Regions from separate parts of the Homo sapiens genome. Here regions 1 and 2 are each linked to region 3. Evidence: promoter capture Hi-C in 16 types of primary human blood cells and fetal thymus (Javierre and others, 2016). All regions are on one chromosome and are shown on one strand. Each heading gives the region's core, a stretch centred on a gene start or on the middle of the fragment in contact. The rest is flanking DNA. Distances are from core to core; before and after follow the strand shown.

Region 1 (4,043 bases), core at 991-3,490, 550 kb before region 3:
ATGAACCTAGGTGTTCAACAACAGATAAATAGATAAAGAAAATGTGGCATATATACACAATGGAACACTATTCAGCCATAAAAAGGAATGAAATCCTGTCATTTGCGGCAACATGGATGGAACTGGAGGAAATTATGTTGTTAAGTACAAGTCAGGAACAGAAAGTTAAACACCACATATTCTCAGTCATATGTGGAAGCTAAAAAATAGTTGATCTCATAGAAGTAAGAAATAGAACAGAGGAGACTAGAAGGTGGGAAGCGTAAAGAGAAAGGGGGATAGGAAGAGATTGGTTAAGGTTATAAAATTACAGTTAGATAGGAGGCATAAGTTCTAGTTTACCACAGCACTGTAGAATGACTATAGTTAACAATAATTTATATAGTTTCAAATAGCTAGAAAGAGAGCATTGAATGTTCCTGATACAGAATTGCTGGGTCCTGGCTAACCTCCACCCTCAAGCCTGGAACCTGGGCCCTAAGTGAAAGCAGCTGACCTCATTTTTTCTGCTCAAATAATTGCCTTTTTGGCCCTCCCCACCCCCATCCTGTGCCCATAAAAAGACTTCGTCTGGCAGAGCAACACAAGTGGCTGGTGCAAGTGGTTGGGGATGCAAGCTGCTGAGCCTCGGAGATACAAGTTGGTGAACTTTGGGGATACAAGCAGCTGAGCATCAGAGACTATGGAGACGCAGTTAACTTCAGATGGTTCAGTTTCAGGGAAAGATCATCTTCTTCCCATACCACCCCCTTTCCAATTCCCCATCCCACTGAGTGCCACTTTTATCACCCAGTAAAATCCTCCACATACACTACCCTTCAAATAGTTCATGTGACCTGATTCTTCCTGGATACCGAACAAGAACTCAGGTGTCAAAAAGGACAGGTGCAGGAGGCTATCACTCTGACCCTTCACTGAGCTGCTAACAGTTAGCCATCCATGGACTGCAGGCTGAGTGAAATGAGCCACTCCAGTTCCTGCCCACAAAGGGGGTCGAGGTCAAGGAAACAATCCCATCTCAGTCCCAACACAAAAAAAAGATAAATGTTTGCCATGATGGTTATATTAATTGCCCTGATCTGATCACTATGCCTTACATATGTATTGCAATATCACTAAGTATGCCATACATATGTACAATTATGTGTCAATTAAAAAAATTAAAAATAAATAACTAAAAAGAAAAAGAGCTGATGTTTCAGTATGAGTCTTAAGGCCTGAAAAGACCAATGTCCTGGCTCAAGGCAGTTAAGCAGGAGAAGTTTCCCTTTATTCAGACTTTTTGTCCTGTTAAGGTCTTCATTTGATTGGATGGGGTCCTCCCACATTAGGGAAGGCAATCTTCTTTTCTTAGTGTACTGATTCAAATGTTAATCTCATCCAGAAACACCCTCACAGACACACCCAGTATAACGTTTGACCAGATATCTGGGCATCTAATGGCCCAGGCAAACTGACACATAAAATTAACCATCACAATGGATTATCCACAAAAGGGCAGCTATCTCCCTAAGGGGAATTCAGCTCTAGCTTTTGAAGTTTTTTTTCCTCTTTGTCACATGCATTATCCTATGTAGATCTGGTCATTCATTTATTCATCAAGGACCTCCTGAGAGCCTGCTGTGTGCCAGACACTACTTTGGATACTGGGGAGACAGTGAACAAAGTAGACTTATTGTGTAAAAAAAGTACACACTGGCAGTATCCTAATTTTGTGTAAATGGCTTCTGAAAATGTGCATAAAATAAAATGTAAGAAAATCTAAACAATAGGCTTATCTAGTATTAAGGGAGGGTTCATTCAGAAAAAAGCTAAGAAATATTATAAAACTTCTATTTATATCTTGCCTTTTAGTCATAATTTTGACAACAGATTCCCAACTTTTCAGAATATTTCTAAATTTGTTTTGATTGTTGTCTTTCTATGAGTGAACACACAATTGCTCTTGTTAAGCCCCATGAGTGTGTGTTTGAAGCTAAAGATGCGTCATTTTAGACACATATAATGGTCTCCATCTCTATCTCACTTCTAATAGGTTTGTGATATTTACAGTTCTTATCAGGTATTAGGGTTTTTATTTTTTAGGTTTTCACTTACTATACGACATAAGGACCAACGCTCTGCAACTTTACTAAAGAAAATAAATAATCTTTATACACTGATTACTTAGTTATGGGCATTTTGTTAAGTGCCTTATGAATATTATCTTTTTAAATCCTGGGATAGGAGTACATCCCTGGACCATTTATAGAACTGCATTCTGTTCAATGAGTTATTACAGAGAAAGGGAAGTGGATGAAGTTGAAAAGATCATCATGCCATAATGGATAGTACACAAAAGACATAATTAGCATGAAAAAAATTCAGCTTATTCAAATAGAACTGTAGTTACTCTAATGAATAAATGATCCCTTGATTATACTTTCAAGTAATACCAAGTCTAAAAATGGTTGTTAAACCAACAACTTCTAAGTTTTAATTGATTTGGAATGAATATGTGGGCCTCCATTATCATAAGCCAGACCAATGTAGTTGAGATGCCCATTTTCCCACTATTCCTAGCCCTGAACTTGGCTAAACTGCTCAACTCTTTGAGCCTCAGTTTATTTTTCTGCAAAATGGGAGCAATCGTAAGAACGTCAAAGGATGCGAAAAGGATAAAGTAATTTATCCTTTAATAAAGGATAAAATAAAGTTTAATAAATAAAATAAAAGAACATACAGTTTGGAACTTGGAACATCATAGTTGTTTGAAAAATATTTGGGCTTCTATTTCCTGCAGTCAGGTATATTCTAAGTATTCAATGAATATTTGTTGGAGGTGTTGAATTCCAATATCTATAAGCAAAGAGAAGTATTATATTAAAATAAAATTAGTTATTGAATTTGGTGTTAAATAGTTTAGTCTAGAGCTGCCTCTTTACATATTTTAAGTTCAGCCTAAAGATTTCTCTGTACATCATGAACTATAACCTAAACGGAGATATAAACAGACTGTAACCTACTCTTGTGCCAATCACCGAGTTTTGGCCAGTCAAAGGGTGCCAACTGTTCAAACCGTGTTCAAATAAGGTAAATGCCTGAGCTGTCACCAGTCCAGCTGTTTGTATACCTCACTTCTGTTTCCTGTGTGTCACTTTCCTTTTTCTGTTCATAAATCTTCTTCCACCCTATGGCTGCTCTGGACTCTCTGAGCCTACTCTGGCTCTGGAGGCTGGCTGATTCATGAATCATTCTTGCTCAATTCAACTGTTACATTTACTTTGGCTAAGGTTTTTCTTCTAACATTGGAAAGAAAGCTGAAACCTTTCAAACTTTACTCTTGAATCTTCTTTTCCTTGTCAGGGAACTCTTCAAGGGTGGATGTCCTGGAATGGCCAATTATTTGTCTAAATGCTTTGTTTCTTTCCTAACCAATTAGGCTAAAACACCTCTGGTAAACAAATAGGCATACAGGCCCCCCGCCCTCACCACCCCATAAATAAGACTGTAGGTGAGAAAGGCAGGGAGGCTGCACTTTCCCCTTCTGATCTGTGCAGGGGAGGTTTCTGCTTCAGGGGATGTGGAGGAGACTGGTCCTGGCTTAGTCTTCTTAGGTAAATCTTTGGCGGGAGCAGCAAGCTGCCCCTTCTAATCTGCCTTCCAAGTGCATGTAGTGGTTCATGGCACTGCTTTACAAGAGGGATGGGTTTGATGGGTGGAGCACTTGCACATTTTTAACTTATAAAAGTCCTTGTGAGCCAGGCACAGTGCCTCATGCCTGTAATCCCAGAACACTGGGAGGCTGAAGTGGGAGGATCACTTGAGGCCAGGAGTTGGAGACCAGCCTGGGCAATATAGTGAGACTCTGTTTCCACCAAAAAAAAAAAAAAAAAAAAAGAAAAAAAAGAAAAAAAAATTAGCTGGGTGGTGGCACACACCTGGAGTGTTAGCTACTCAACAGGCTGAGGTTGGTGAATTGCTCAAACCTAAGAGGTTGAGGCTTCAGTGAAGTTGGTTATGATTGTACCACTGGGCATCCAAGTCTGGGCAACAGAGAGAGA
Region 2 (3,709 bases), core at 816-3,315, 600 kb after region 3:
CCTTTCCACTGCCAGAGCCTCAAGGAGGTTTTTCTCAGTCTCCCCATCATGAGAACTCGATGTGGCTCCTAGAGGGAAGGCCCATTGAAAGTTTGGAGACCTCCACCAGTTTCCCATTCTCTCATTGTATCTCTGGTAATTCATTTAAATTACCACTTAGATATTCCCCAGTGTATGGCATTAGTAGCTTCCCTCTAGGTAAGCAAATCTCTGGATGCACCTGTCTCTCTACCGTGTTAAGCTGGCAGCTTGTTGTGCAATCACACTTCCCTGATGATTCCAGGAAAAGTCACTGATTTTCAATTTGTCCAGCTTTTCTTTTAAAGACGGGAATGATGGCTTCCTAGCTGTTTACATGCTTGAGCTAAAACTCAAAGTCCCTACTTAATGTTTTATATTTTCAAAATGTGCTTTTTTATTTTAATGGATTCTATTGAACATTCCTTATCCACAGAAATCTTCTTGAGTCTTATTTTGTTGTATTTTGTGATCGCCGTGACTCTGAAACTACTTTTTTCTTTTTTTTTTTGACAGAGTTTCACTCTTGCTGCCCAGGCTGGAGTGCAATGGTGCAATCCTGGCTCACTGCAACCTCCGTCTTCTGGGTTCAAGCAATTCTCCTGCCTCAGCCTCCCAAGTAGCTGGGATTACAGGCATGTGCCACCATGCCTGGCTAATTTTTGTATTTTTAGTAGAGACAGGGTTTCACCTTGTTGGTCAGGCTGGTCTTGAACTCCTGACCTCAGGTGATCCACCCACTTTGGCCTCCCAAAGTGCTGGGATTCAGGGGTGAGCCACCACACCCGGCCAACTCTGAAAGTTCTAAGCAGCAGACTTTTCCTAGCTCTGCAAAGAAATAACCAAAGAGCTCTTGGCCTCTAGCTAGACCACATACCTCTTGTTGCCTAGCTTGGAATTCCACACTGCTGCCCACTCCCTTTTGGAACCCATAGAACACTTACATGCAACATGCATCCTGGAAGTAAAAGAGAGTGGTGACCAGGGGACCATCTTTGACTAATGGAAGGAAAGAAGCCGATGGATAAATGTTTTTCTCTTTCATCTCCCAGGGACATAAGGATTTCAAAAGGCCCTCAGAACATCCTGGTGAGACCGAACTCCCACCCTCGCAGCAGAGGCCAGTTCAACAACTCATTCTTGTATCTGCTTCCTGATCTACTCCCAAATTTCTGCTCCCTGAAATCATTTTCCAGAGGATTAGCCCATATGAGAACCTTCGTCTTGGGCTTTGCTTTTGGAGAACCCAGGCTAAGATATAAGATTATTTAAAAGAAAAAATTTATAACATGTCTATAAATGGATAAAAACAGCCATTTGCCATTACAAAGATGAATTCTTCCCTTCCATGACTTTCCAAAACTTCTTTGCCTGTAAATATCTATTCCTCTTAGCTCATTCTTCCCATCCTTCTGCATTTTGATAGCACATTATCAGTTGCATAAAATTATCTGTTCTTACCCACCTCCCTCTATATTTTGAGAAATTTAGAAGATAAGAAAAGAAAAGAAAATGATGCCATTAAGGACTATTCCTTATACTCTTATGTTAACAAAAGATTAGCAAGTGTTGAAAGCAGTACTCAAAGTGTGGTTTATGGACAGATTATTGGCCTACAAACTGCTTTTTTAGTTTACAAACACTTAATAAGCTTGCTCCAAATGTAAATTAACTAAATCACTATATACAATATTACAACTGACATTAAAAACAAATTTATGACTTCTTCAATGAAGAAAGCAAGGCATTGATTTACATTGCTGTGTCAGACTCCTGATCTCAAGAAGTACTGTCTCTTTGAGTAACACTGGATTACAGGATTAGACAGTTATCAAAGTACTAACGGTGGACATTTCTTAGTATGCACTCAGTTCTAAGCACTCTTTCATAGGCCCTACTGATATTACCTCATTTAATTCTCAAAAAAAAACCTTGCATATGAGGTAGGTTATATTATTATTCTCACTTTATAGGTAGAGAGACTGACGCACAGTGAAGTTTAATAATTTTCCCAACATTACAGAGCTAGTAAGTGGTAGTGGCAGCCTCCCAGGTGACTGACCCCCAGTGGTCTTTGCCTCTTGGTATTTACTCCCTTGTGTAGTCAGCTCCCATAGTGTATTTGTGACCAAAGCACACACAAGTGATATTGTGTGATTTTCAAGGATAGATCATAACAGATATTGTTCCTTTTGCCTTGCTCTCTGGCATCAGCTACTTCAAGGAAGCCAGCTTCCACGTCATGACAACATTCATGCAGCACTATGGAAAGGCAAGAAACTGAGGCCTCTGTCAGCAGCCAGCACCAACTTGCAAGCCATGGGAGGGGGCATTCTTGGAAGAGAATCCTCCTGCTCACTCAAGTCTTCAGATGACTCCAGCTCTGGCTAACATCATGACTATGATCTCATGAGAGATGCTGAGTCAGAACCACCAAGCTTAGACACTTCTTCATTCCTGACCCACATGATATGTGCAAGATAATAAATTTTTATTGGTGTCTTCCATCTCTAAGTTTGGGGCTAGTTTCATATCCAACAATAGATAACTAAAATAGCAGTAGAAAATCTGGCTCCAGAGCCTGTTTTGTTAACTGCTATGTGTACTATCTCTCAACTGAGAGTTTATCTTGGGTATATGAAGAAGGATTAAAACAGAATTGAAGGTAGAGAAGGAAATGACTTCCTTCCTATGTGATGTTATTTAATGCCAATATTGTGTACCAGCTACCCAGCTACCATCGTCTCCACTAACACCAGCAGCATGCATTCAAAACTCTAAGAGAAGAAGAGTAGACAAGAGAGTATGGGATTTGAAAGAAGATAGTCCGGAATTGAATCCCAGTTCAGTTCCTTCACTCATTTTGGGTATTCCAAAAAAGAGGCCATAATAACCAGTGAGAAAAACAACTTGTAAAGCCCAGTCTCTCTGAGCACAGCTGAGAGCTGGCTATATATATTTATTTGGGATGTATGGAGTTCAGGGATTCATGGAATTTCTCAGAAGTAGGGGTACTTACAGATTGGGTAATATTTAGCTGTATGCCTGAGTGACAGTCTTGCTGATTGGATGACTTTCAGCAGTGTTTGTGCTGATGCAAAATAGCTAATGACCAATTAGGAAAAGTTTAAAACCATGTCTGGCAATTGTTTCAAGGCCAAAGAACAATGAGCCCTTTCCTAAGAAGATAGGAACTTTCTGTTCTTCCTTAAGCCATTTCCCTTCAATGTTCTTACCTGTAAAATGGGGAGAATACAGACAACTATTTATCAAGGGCCTACTATGATACTTGCCACACGCTAATCAACTCAGCCATTGTATGGCAGCAGCTGCCATAAACCATAAGTACACAAATGTATGTGGCTGTATTCCAATAAAACTTTATTTACAAAAATAGGCAGCAGGCAGGATGTGGCCAGTGGGCAGTAGTCTGCCAGTTCTGCTCCAGGTTATCTTTAGTCCCAGCTGTGGCCTGCTCTTCTGCCTCTCCTAGCTTCTAGCTCTGCTGTCCCATTGATCTGTATTACACTTTCCCCTTTCCTTAAATGCTTTTCTTCTACTGATGTGTTAGCTTTCAGTAAAGCATTACCTCATCAGGAGAAAGTGCTGTCCACACCTTTAGACTATTACAGGCCCCCCTGCTGTGTGCTCCCAAATGCATTTCCTCTTTCGCCACCTTCATCTCACTTTG
Region 3 (3,821 bases), core at 423-2,922:
CTGAAACCAAGCATTCTCGCCTGCCTTGGGGTCTCCTAGCGCAAGTTCCAAGCAGCCTTAGTGTAATACCTACCCTAATCTCATCCTGGGAAGCGACATTAGTGTGTTAGGCTGCGCTGCTGGAAGTTTGGGGTGGACTCAGCAAATATTTCATGCAATTATGAAGAAGGACTGATCAAGACAGCAATACACTTTTCTGTGTCTGAGTATTTTTAAGAGTGTAAATTGCAGAATTAGCAATACTCTATCCCCTGTTGGCTAGTGACTTGGAGATACCCAAGCCATGATTGGGGCAGAAAGTTAATTAATCTGCTTATTAAAAAGAAGAAATGTCTCATTTGCATGCATTTGCATTCAGGTCTTGAATTCATTATGCTTTTTGGTGGTCCTTTGCTTTATTTCCTTAATACCACTGACCTACCTAGGTGTTAGCTCAATACATTTAAATTTTGTGTGGCTGGGCTTTGTTTAAGTGTCGTATCTCTGGTTATAGTGGGTTCTAGCAGAATTTGATTATTTTATAGATTGTTTAATTCTCTATAGAGATTTTCCCCTTCCATGGGCTGTTGGGATTTCTTATGGTTATCATATACCACAGTTGGGAAAATATTTGTTTACTTGACCAATCTTGGAAAATACAGACTTTGTCTCCATAAGAGTTGGACATGTTATCTGGGGATGATCCATTCAATTATTTGCAATTTCCTTCTCAACCAAATTTTCCGTGGTCATTTTTGTGGCAGTTTTCTCCTTCTTTGCTTTTCCTGTCTTATTGGGAGGTCTGTTTGGGTTTTTTGTTTGTTTGTTTGTTTGTTTTTCCTTCCTGGGAAAAAAGACCATTGCTCTCCTTAAGTGTATTTTATACCTTCCACATTCAGAACGACTGTTTTTACCTGAAAATGCCCAGGCACCTTAAGGGCCTGAATGAAGTCTTTGGAGAAGAGGGAGGTGGCTGGGAAGAGGGGTGAGTGGGGAGAGATGGGAGTGAGATGGAGTGGAGGGCAAAGAATATAACAGCCCTTGGAACAACAGCAAGTAAAGCAAAACTACATAGGGAGATTAGTGCTGAAATAAATCTCTGCATGTGAGTGAATCACCGGTCCCAATTCGGGGCACCACAGTGCCCGTGTTTCTGTATTTTGTAGTAATCAACATTTCTGATACATTACAACAGTGTGGTTGTCAGGGGTGAGCGGCTCATGTAGCGGTTAGACCACCTCTATGCTAACAAGCTTAGCAATCAGGTTGTGAAGGGTCCTGGCTGGAGGAAAAAAATTAAAACCAAACCTTAGACCTCTTGTCAGACTGTGAGGAGAATTATATTTGTGAACTAGTCTACAATGTGGACAGGAAATGACCTCTCCACAAACTGCTTCTTTAAAAACAAGCAGTGGTGCCTAAAGCTATCCAGCTCCTCTCTCTCTCTCTCTCTCTCTCTCTCTCTCTCTCTCTCTCTCTCTCTCTCTCTCTCTCTCTCTCCCCCTCCCTCCCTCCCTCCTCCCTCCCTCCCTCCCTCCCTTCTTCCCTCCCTTCCTCCATACCAACCTCCCTCCCTCTCTGGAGCTCCTGCTCTCTCCCTCTCCCTCCTCTCCCGTGCTCCCTCCCTCCCTCCCTCTTTCCCTCCCTCCTCTCCTCTCCCTCTCCTCTCCTGCTATAGAGGGCTCCGACAGCAGTTCCCAGCCAGCGTGTTCAGCCTGCCTGCCTGCCTGCCTCTGTGTGTGTGTGAGCGTGTGTGCGTGCGTCTACTTTGTACTGGGAAGAACACAGCCCATGTGCTCTGCATGGACGTTACTGATACTCTGTTTAGCTTGATTTTCGAAAAGCAGGCAAGATGTCCAGCACACCACATGACCCCTTCTATTCTTCTCCTTTCGGCCCATTTTATAGGAGGCATACACCATACATGGTACAGCCAGAGTACCGAATCTATGAGATGAACAAGAGACTGCAGTCTCGCACAGAGGTAAGTACTTCAACCTTGGGGATGTGTTTGTGTATTTTTGTTAAGCTATGCATGAGCTTTTCCTAGGGTTTCTGGCTGAATTCTATGGGAAGTGTCCCACTTGATACTACCACGTACGTGGAAATGAGCGCCAGGATGAATCCACGAGTTTGGACGCTGGGTTTCCAGGCACAGCAACTCTTGTAGCAGAGGACAGTTTCTGCCGGAATCTTGAGACAACCCAGCACTTGATTCACATGCCGGGTTTCCAGAAATGTTGCTCTTCCAGAACTCTGGTGTTTTACAGGCTCTGAGTCAGTCCTGTTGGTGTTTCTTGAGATATAATTCCAAGGAATTTTGTGATTGTTTGCATCTGGCTATATATATATATACATATGTGTATATATATATATATATATATATATATACATATGTGTATATATATATATATATATATATATATATATATATATATATATTTTCTTTTTTACAAATCCTAGAGGAAGTCTGCTTTGACCTGTATTTACTTTTCAGAGTCACCAAAATCGAGGTAAAAAGGGGCAGAAGAGTAAACCTGCCTACTTCTCAGAACTAGCCCTGGAGGGACACATGTTTGTATATTTCAGTGTTAAAATCAGAAACCAGTTGCTTGGGGCAAGGGGACTCTAGACTTTCTCCTATTGCTGTCGGCCGTGCCCCCCTATCACTCTACCTTAGGACAGGAGCTGGTTCAGCTTTCAAGTCAGCTCTAGTTTTTGCATATTTGAGATCTTGTGCCTGAGAGAGGGAGACTCAGCCTCCTAGGCAGCCAGCAACTCTGGGAGCAGAGAGAACAGGACTTTCAGAACTTTTTAAATGCAAAACTCCAGACTCGCCTCCTGCAATTTAAATATTTTATGTCAGTTGACTTTTTCTCTGTGCTAGCTCAGCTGGCAGGTCTTGCTGCTGGATTGTCCATCTGCCTGTAAGTTGGGGCTTTGTGTGGAAGTGTTCGGAAAAGGAGTTTGTTATAGGTGCACCAAAGTCACTTTAGGAAGTGGAAATTGCTAGGAATTTAGTCTTCTCTGCAGAGTATAAATACCACAAGATTTATGCCAAAGAGCTTTTAGGGAATAGCTCTGGTGGAATTTTAGATTGAAGATTGACTTTTAACTCTAGGAAGGGACTCCATTAAGTTTGTGCTATGGGATAAAACACAGTTGGCTTGAATTGTCAACAGAGCCATAGAGAATTCATGACGTTTCGTGTATTTAATACAGCTAACAAGATGTGACCTGCTTTCTGATTGGCTAACTGCTGGACAAGGACTTATATGTATTTTAAAAGCTGGGTTGTCTTTAATGACTGCTGTTTTCTTTATATGTTAATACACCATAGACGCTAAATATGACTGCTGGTACTCTTGCTCTTTCTAGAAGCCAGTAGCTTCTATAGAAGTGCAAACTATGTTTTGCTTAGGATAGTGAACTGTTGGCAGTGACTGATATTTGTGCTTGCTGTTTTGTGTATGTTGCTTTGTGTGTGTAACAGTTTGTATATTTCCTTCAGATCTTTGCAACTGTGTGTTGGAATCTTAAATCTCTGCATAAACCATTGGTTGACACAGGCTGCTTTCATAATTAGGAGGATAGAAAATGTCTTATAGTTCAGGCACACATTAATTGCAATACAAATTTGGAAAAAATAGTCTTTTAAAAGTATGATTAGTTATAAAAAAAGAGGCCAGGGACCATTATGGCTCAATTCTTGAACAGCAACAATATTTAAAAATGACCTGTCCACCTTACATTTTAGAAAGTTTTTGAGGAATTGCAGAGATTCTTCTCCATCCTCCTGCAGTTAGGAACACAGGCAGCTTTCTCTGATATCTGCCTGCCCT

Evidence for each region. The method cuts DNA at HindIII sites, captures the fragments that hold promoters and counts their contacts. A CHiCAGO score of 5 or more calls a contact.
Region 1: a contact is called between a fragment that was not itself captured here and the fragment with the promoter of LDB2 in region 3, in 2 of 17 cell types (endothelial precursors and naive CD4 T cells). The highest score is 6.1, in endothelial precursors.
Region 2: a fragment that was not itself captured here is called in contact with the fragment with the promoter of LDB2 in region 3 in 1 of 17 cell types (M0 macrophages); the score reaches 5.5 in M0 macrophages.

The regions. Positions count from the first base shown.
Region 1 is chr4:17,448,020-17,452,062 of GRCh38, reverse strand. No RefSeq gene overlaps it. Among named protein-coding and RNA genes, the nearest start is that of QDPR, 62 kb to the left of the region's middle. The HindIII fragment of the contact is 7,832 bases long and covers 1-4,043 here.
Region 2 is chr4:16,293,365-16,297,073 of GRCh38, reverse strand. The region is part of intron 2 of LOC124900674 (a long non-coding RNA gene); the gene reads right to left. Among named protein-coding and RNA genes, the nearest start is that of TAPT1-AS1, 69 kb to the right of the region's middle. The HindIII fragment of the contact is 787 bases long and covers 1,672-2,458 here.
Region 3 is chr4:16,896,496-16,900,316 of GRCh38, reverse strand. It overlaps LDB2 (LIM domain binding 2), which reads left to right and starts at 1,672. Exons shown (of 8, transcript NM_001290.5): 1 at 1,672-1,963. The coding sequence starts at 1,832. The HindIII fragment of the contact is 2,891 bases long and covers 1,235-3,821 here.